Regions from separate parts of the Homo sapiens genome. Here all the other regions are linked to region 2. Evidence: promoter capture Hi-C in human tissues and cell types (Jung and others, 2019). All regions are on one chromosome and are shown on one strand. Each heading gives the region's core, a stretch centred on a gene start or on the middle of the fragment in contact. The rest is flanking DNA. Distances are from core to core; before and after follow the strand shown.

What was found. Contacts are between HindIII fragments. The study calls those that stand out against the background at their distance.
Region 1: a contact is called between a fragment that was not itself captured here and the fragment with the promoter of FAM171A2 in region 2, in 6 of the 25 tissues and cell types used here (IMR-90 fibroblasts, dorsolateral prefrontal cortex, heart left ventricle and 3 more).
Region 3: a fragment that was not itself captured here is called in contact with the fragment with the promoter of FAM171A2 in region 2 in 2 of the 25 tissues and cell types used here (heart right atrium and mesenchymal stem cells).

The regions. Positions count from the first base shown.
Region 1 is chr17:44,469,705-44,472,404 of GRCh38, forward strand. The region is part of intron 2 of GPATCH8 (G-patch domain containing 8); the gene reads right to left. Among named protein-coding and RNA genes, the nearest start is that of GPATCH8, 32 kb to the right of the region's middle. The HindIII fragment of the contact is 3,729 bases long and covers 1-2,700 here.
Region 2 is chr17:44,362,574-44,365,273 of GRCh38, forward strand. FAM171A2 (family with sequence similarity 171 member A2) reads right to left here and starts at 1,280. Exons shown (of 8, transcript NM_198475.3): 1 at 1,024-1,280. The coding sequence starts at 1,141. It also overlaps the pseudogene RPL7L1P5. RefSeq lists a silencer at 992-1,371. The HindIII fragment of the contact is 16,504 bases long and covers 1-2,700 here.
Region 3 is chr17:44,446,177-44,448,876 of GRCh38, forward strand. The region is part of intron 3 of GPATCH8 (G-patch domain containing 8); the gene reads right to left. Among named protein-coding and RNA genes, the nearest start is that of GPATCH8, 56 kb to the right of the region's middle. The HindIII fragment of the contact is 4,364 bases long and covers 1-2,700 here.

The DNA of each region.
Region 1 (2,700 bases), core at 169-2,668, 110 kb after region 2:
GCAAACAAGTTGTAAAAATTCCCGAAACAAAAAAACTCTATAGCTCACTACAGATGACACAATGAAGACTAGAGAGAAAAGCCATATAGTAATGCTACACCATTCAGCTCCAAGAAGCACATTATTTCTAGTGCAGTCCACATATGGTCACTGCTAAATGTCAAATCAGCAGTCTTATAAAGAATTACAGTTTGGAACTAGTGGAGTCCACAGATCTAGACAGATATGCAACATCACAAAACCCAATTATACATATACTTCCAAATCCTTAAGATGCGCAAACTAAACATCAGCAACTGGAGTTTGAAGCTTACACTACATTTTTAAACCTATTAGGTCATCCTGACAACCATAAAGAAAGAATTTTAATCAGTCAGGTAGAGCAAGGACCGACTAGCGGCTGATGGGTAGTTGCACTTCCAACCACAACAGTAACAACATGTTTTAAGTCTATGATGCATGCATTCTGCCTTCTATATAGCTTAAAGTCATTCTCCCATCTGATCCCTCATCTTTTTTTGTTTGTTTGTTTTTGGAGATCGAGTCTCGCTCTGTCACCCAGGCTGGAGTGCAGTGGCACGATCTTGGGTTCAAGCGATTCTCCTGCCTCAGCCTCCTGAGTAGCTGGGACTACAGGCGTGTGCCACCACACCCGGCTAAGTTTTGTATTTTTAGTAGACATGGGGTTTCACCGTGTTAGCCAGAATGGTCTATCTCCTGACCCTGTGATCCACCCACCTCGGCCTCCCAAAGTGCTGGGATTATAGGTGTGAGCCACTGCACCCAGCGCTTTTTTTTTTTTTTTTTTTTGAGACGGAGTCTCGCTCTGTCACCCAGGCTGGAGTACAGTGGCGTGATCTCGACTCACTGCAACCTCTGCCTCCCAGGTTCAAGCAATCCTCCTGCCTCAGCCTCCTGAGTAGCTGGGTAATCCCAGCACATGCACAGGCATGTGCCACCACGTCTGGCTACTTTTTGTATTTTTAGTAGAGACAGGGTTTCACCATGTTGGTCAGGCTGTTCTCGAACTCCTGACCTCGTCATCTGCCCGCCTCAGCATCCCAAAGTGCTGGGATTACAGGCGTGAGCCCCTGCGCCCAATTCCTCATCTTCTAACTATGATAAAGGTCATAAAGGACCGTGTATCCTAAAAAACACCAATTAATTCTTCTGTGATTGAATCCTAGACGGAGCTATGGCTTTAGATCAAGCTTTGTTTTGTAAATATTTTGTCTTTAAGTAAGTGGAGGTTATAATTATAACATTTGAGACCTAAATATCTCATAAAGCAATAACAATTTTTAAAATTCAAATTCAAAGCTTCTCGTAATAGGGATAAAATGTTCACACTTTTCAACTTGTTTTTAATAGAGATAATCAAGTTGTTTAGCAATTCTCATATAATTTTCTTAAAAAGATATTTCATTCTTGAGGAAAAATCTCATTGAAAGATATCTGGTTGGTTGAAGCAAATAAGGGAAAATTAAACTTCAAAAAATATTATTAAATGCTTTACAAATACTGGATTTTGATATATTTTCAACATTTACCTAATAAAATTGAAATACCAATATCTCACTAACAAATCTAAGCTTCGGAAGTTCACTAAAAGCATAATACATTATTGCATCTTCATGTCTCATTTCCCATCTTGCTGGTTTGCATCAAATTTAGCCTACTACAAAATAAAAAGACCTTAATCCTATACTCACAATAACCCTTCACACAGGCATATTCTTGGCACAAACCTGTGCAGAGACCTCCACGGTTACCAGCTGCTGCAGATTACCTTTGGTTAAAAAAAAATGACTAGACCTTTAGCTCCTGCAATGATCTGTAGACTCCCAAAGCTGCATATTTTCAGCCACTTTTGAGTTGCATGCTGTAGCAAAACAGTCAGCACCTCTCAATAGATATTGCTGCAGAGAAAGATTTTAATTCAGCACTCTTTCTGTGTTAGAAGTAACACCATTTTCCCCTAAAAACAAAACAGCTTAATATAGCCAGCCAGCCATGTAATTAAATATTTACTTATTATTTAGTGGGCATTCCTCAGGTGATAAGGGACTTCTTTTGTTTGGTGGGAGGGAGGGAACACTACCTACTTTGATGCCAATCACTGTAGGAGTTTCTCTTAAAACTTAAAATTTTCTGTGACCAAAAAAAGTAAAAAAAAAAAAAAAAAGTTGAAAAAAGAGAAAAACACTTAAAATTTTACTCACAAATGATCAGGCAACAGAAATAAGATCCCTCTTATCTTGTGTGTCAATACTTCTTTTTTTTTTTCTTATTTTTTCTTGCATCTTTGTTTATTCTCCCAGATCCTGTGCCCTACTTCTACCTAATACAATGTAGGCCATGAAGTTCTCTCCTACAACCTAAACTATCTCATCACAAATAATGCATATATTTATCTTTCAGAAGTAAATTTTCATTAGAAGTGTAATTACTAATATACATTTCTGAACATTCATTTATTTAAAAAAATTAAATATCCAGCCTGAGTACTATATACTATTTGCTATTTTAAGTGAAGAAGGTAGCACTACTTAATAAATAAGGCATATTATCAATTCTACTCCCACTGAATGAGATTATTCAACAATGATTACTCAATTAGACTGCCTTCTGATACTGTTCTCGCTATATGTGGCAGAAAAAGTCCTGGACATTATGAGAGGTAAAATAGCATTAGCCTCA
Region 2 (2,700 bases), core at 30-2,529:
CCGGGAGGTGGACTCAGGACTGGAGTGGGCGGAGGCCCCCAAGCGTCCAGGCCTGCCTGTGGGATGTGTTGTCAGGGTCTTGCTCCCCCACCCTTTCCTGCTGCAGGAGCCGGCCCCACCCCCACCTCACACACCCACCTGCGCCCGGTGAGTCGCTGGGAAGGGTCTCCTCCACTGCGAAGATGTGAGATGAGGAGGGGGTGATATGGGGGCGGGCAGGGGACAGGAATGCCAGGAGGCCTGCTGAATGGGGGGGGACCCAGGCACCTGCCCTCCCAGCCGGCACTGCCCACAGCCAGCTAGCTCAGCATGGCTCCACGACCACAAGCCTGCCATGCTCCCTCAGCTGGGAATCACAATGTACCCCCTTTTCTTAGAGGCCCACAACTGCGGCTCGTCCTCCATCATAGGCTCACAAGCATTTATTTGGTGCACCCCAAACTCTAAACCAGGGGGGCTGGCTGGGAGCTGTCAGGCTCCAGGGCAAAGAACCCCATTAGAGCAGTCAATCCCGCCCACAGCCTCACCCACTCCCCCTTCTCCCCTCCCCCCTTCAAACCCAGCTCCAGGCTCCCAGCCTCCGGTCCCGGCCTAGGGTGGCAGCGGATGCCGGCGCCCCCACCCCGCCAGGGTCGGGAGCGAGCAACCCGCAGGGGGCTGCGGAGCAGGCGCCCGCCCCAGCCCGCCCCTGGGCGGGTGTCTTCGGTAGACAATGGCTCAGGCAGCAGCGCCTCGCGGACCAGGAGGGAGAAAAACAAATAGGGAGAGGGCGGCGGCGCAGATCCTGGGGACCCTCGCACTACCCATTGTGTCTCCCCAAGACCCCCGCCCCGGACGGCCTCCCTCTCCCCGCCTCCACTTTCCCCCAGAAGCGCCAACCCCAGATCGCTTAGCTCCCCCCACCCGAATCCAGGGAACAGAATACCACTCAATTCACGAACGCCGCGAAGAGGGGGCTGACGGGCGGGAGCCTGATCAGGGGGCGCAGGCCCGCGATCGCGGCCCCTCCCGGCTGAGACTCACCCTGCGGGCTGGGGGGCTCCGGCGGCGACTTGCCGGGAGCCCGGGAGGCGCTGCCGAGCAGCAGCCCCAGCAGCGGCAACAGCCGCGCGAGGACGCTGGGGCCACTCGCCGGCGGCATCGCGGGGCTAGGCCGGGCCCTAGCGGTCCATGGCTCCCGCCTGGTCCCGCTCGCCCGGCCCCGCGCAGCCCCAGCTCTGCGCCGCGCCTCGCAGCTCCGGCTCCCGCTCCCGCTGCGGCGCCCGCTCAGCGCGATTGTCTCCGACCGGAGCCGCCGCAAGCGCCCCCTGCAGGCGGCGCGCCACACCGCTGGCCCTCCGGCACCGCCCCCTCCCGGCCCCGCTCCGCCCGCCGCCCCCCGGTACTGCCCACCTTCAGCCCACCCCGCAGCCCCCGCGCTCTGCGCTCCCAGACTCTGCGCTGCAAAGGAGTGTCGGGATTAGGGTCCCATCACCCGGGTTCTTGGGTTTCGAGAGTCCCCAAAATTTGGTGCAAAATTTGTGTGTGTGTAGGTGGGGAGTGGATATTGCCTACAACACTCTCAAGGGGTACGGTCATGAAAGTCTCAGAAAACTGTAAGAACTCCCTGCTCGATGGCCCCCTTCTCCCGGTAGAACACCTAGGCAGTGCTGGGGTGATAGCAGGGAAGGCCCCCTAGACCCCCCTAAGTCTCTCTTTTTTTTTTTTTTGAGACAGATTTTTTTTTTTCAGAGACAAGTGAACATTTATTTTTGGGCCTTTCTTCCTATTTCAAGTCTTTTTCAAAACAAGGCCCCAAGAATCTCCAAATTCAATTATGTCCCTGGGCTTGGCCGACTGGTGCAGGAGTCTTAGGGAGCCTTGTACAAATGCTAGAGTTACTCACTTACCGACATTAAACTAAAACGCTGGAATTTTTCCTTGGAAACTGGACTGTGATTAGAGGTGCTTGCCATGAACATAAGCTACTGTTTCTTCTCCTTCTTTTTTTTTTTTTTTTTTTTTTTGAGAGAGAGTCTTGCTCTGTTGCCCAGGCTGGAGTGCAGTGGCGTGATCTTGGCTCACTGCAACCTCTGCCTCCCGGGTTCAAGTGATTCTCCTGCCTCAGCCTCCCAAGTAGCTGGGACTACAGGTGCACGCCACCATGCCCGGCTAATTTTTGTATTTTTAGTAGAGACAGCGTTTCACTATGTTGGCCAGGCTGGTCTCGAACTCCTGATCTCAAGTGATCTACCCGCCTCGGCCTCCCAAAGTGCTGGGATTACAGGCGTGAGCTTCTGTCTTTTCTTTGACCCTTCCTTTCCAGTTTTTGAAGATAAAGCTGGAAATAATCTTCTCTGAAGATACTTGATAAAAATTCCCAAAAAAACAAAAACACATGCTTCTACTACCCATGCTTCCACTTCATTAATAAAAATTTACTGCAGTTTGGCACCTGGGTCTAGTTCAGCTGGCGGATGAGCTGACTGATGCGTTCACCCTGATAGCCAGGTGTGCCCATCTCCTTGAGGAAGCCCACTGTATTTTTGGTAGCATGACGGGCCACTGAGAGGTAGAAAGGGCGTAACAACCATGAGACCTCCTGGAAATGCTTCCCTGGGACGGCAATTTCATGACTGAGGTCTTCCAAGCAAACGACACCAAACTTCCCCAGGTGCTTCTCAATCACTGTGTTGTCTGTCAGAGGAATGGTCTTATTCC
Region 3 (2,700 bases), core at 194-2,693, 84 kb after region 2:
TAGCCTCGAGTTATCCTTCTGCCTCAACCTCACAAAGTGCTGGGATTACAGGTGTGAGTCACCATGCCGCCTATATTAGTTTCGTGATCCAAAAATAGAGGAGTTAAAGGCCAGGCGCAGTGGCTCACGCCTGTAATCCCAGCACTTTGGGAGGCCGAGGCGGGCAGATCACGAGGTCAGCAGATCGAGACCATCCTGGCTAACACGGCGAAACCCAGTCTCTACTAAAAACACAAAAAATTAGCCAGGCGTGTGGCAGGCGCCTGTAGTCCCAGCTACTCGGGAGGCTGACACAGGAGAATGGTGTGAACCCGGGAGGTGGAGCTTGCAGTGAAGCCGAGTTCACACCACTGCACTCCAGCCTGGGCGACAGAGTGAGACTCTGTCTTAAAAATAAAGGAGTTAGACAAATCTATAAGGTTCACTTCACAATTCTAAAGTTTGAAGAGTGGAAAATATTTGAGTAGAAAATATCTGGGGGGATTATGTAGACAGCAGCCAGTCTTGTGATACTATAATAAGCCAACAATCAAATGCCTTCTTAAACTTACTATTGTTTTTCCATAGCTACACTGAAAATTTTACTATTCCAGGATCACTCCATTACCCCAAAACTTTCCAGCCTCATTTAACTTTCCACTGCAACTCCTCCATTTCATCTATTTTTTTTTCCTTAAAGACTGAGTCTCACTCTGTCACCCAGGCTGGAGCACAGTGTCACAATCTTGGCTCACTGCAACCTCCGCCTCGCAGGTTCAAGTGACTCTCCTGCCTCAGTCTCCTGAGTAGCTGGGATTACAGGCATGCATCACCATGCCCAGCTAATTTCTTTGTGTTTTAGTAGAGATGGGGTTTCACCATGTTGGCCAAGCTGGTCTCGAACTCCTGACCTCAAGTGATCTGCCCGCCTTGGCCTCCCAAAGTGCTGGGATTACAGGTGTGATCCACCGCACCTGGCCTCCATTTCATGTTTAATAAAAAAAAATTTTTTTTTTTTTAAGACAGTCTCACTCTGTTGCCCAAGCTGGAGTACAGTGGCACACTCTTGGCTCACTGCAACCTCTACCTCCTGGGTTCAAGCAATTCTCCTGCCTCAGTCAGCCTCCTGAATAGCTGGGACTACAGGCACGTGCCACCATGCCTGGCTAATTTTTGTATTTTTAGTAGAGACAGGGTTTCACTATATTGGCCAGGCTGGTCTTGAATTCCTGACCTCGTGATCTGCCCGCCTCAGCCTCCCAAAGTGCTGGGATTACAGGTGTGAGCCACCGCACCCAGCCAATAAACTTCTTCCTATATTTTTCTAGGCAATCCCTAAAAAAGACTGGGCTGCAAAGCTTAGCTCTCCAATAAGAGATAATAGCTAGACACTTGTGTGACTTTTGGCAAGCAGAGCCTGAGTCTCAGCAGCCTCCTCTGCAAAATGAAAATATTATCACCACCTTTTTTTTTTTTTTTTTAAGACAGGTTCTAGCTCTATGGCTCAGGCTGGAGATTAGAGTGCAGTCACACAATCATAGCTCACTTGCAGCCTCAAACTCCTGGGCTCAAGCAATCCTCCTGCCTTAACCTCCCAAGTAGCTAGGGCTACAGGCATAAGCCATCACACCACACCTACCCCATCCCCCTTTTTAGGACTGGCATACAGACCAAAAGAGACAACAAATGGAAGATATTTTGTAAACTTTAAATCACTATGCAGAACGCTCAAGGGTTCAGAAAATAAAGAAATTAGTCTTCCTTTTATTTCCAAATTAGACATTTTGGGGGTGTTTGTTTGTGAGACAGGGTCTCACTCACTCTGTTGCCCCAGCTGGAGTACAGTGGCGTGATCTCAGCTCACTGCAACCTCTGCCTCCCAGGTTCAAGCGATTCTCCTATCTCAGCCTCCTGAGTAGCTGGGATTACAGGAGCCCACTACCAAGCCCGGCTAATTTAAATTTGGCATTTTTGAAAGTAAATACCTTAAAATGAAAGATACTCTAAAACAGAATCTGTGATAATTTCCAAATGTTTTACATACAATTTGATGGTAATGAAACAACCCCATTTACAGATGGAGAAAATTATTATCTATGATCAATAATCAAAGTATTACAGGCTGGGTATGGTGGCTCACGCCTATAATCCCAGCACTTTGGGAGGCTGAGGCAGGATGACAGCTTGAGCCCTGGAGTTCCAGACCAATCTAGGCAACATAGGGAGACCCTGTCTCTATGAAAAAAATTTAAAAATTGGCCAGACATGGTGGCAAATGCCTATATTCCCAGCTACAGCTACACAGGATGCTGAGGTGGGAGGATCACGTGAGCCAAAAAAAAAAAAAAGGGGGGGGGGGGAAGAAGGAGGAAGAAGAAGAAGGAAGAAGAAGAGGAAGAGGAAGAAGAAGAGGAAGAGGAAGAAGAAGAAGAAGAAGAAGAAACAAACCACTATCACTATATACCCTTTTGCTCACTTAAGAAGCTTCCTGGACACTCCACTCTCTTGCCTAAGTATCCTACTAACCCAGTGTCATTTTAATAAGGCAAACTAACCTAGGTCCAAAAGTCTATGAATACTAAGATAGGAAACAATGTAAATTAGGCTAAGGCTAAGACTATAAAAAAAAAAAAATAAACAGCACTATACTACTTTAGTGTAACCAATACATTTTGGATAAATTTAAAAAAAAAAACTGTCCACCCTATTTACTATAATGAA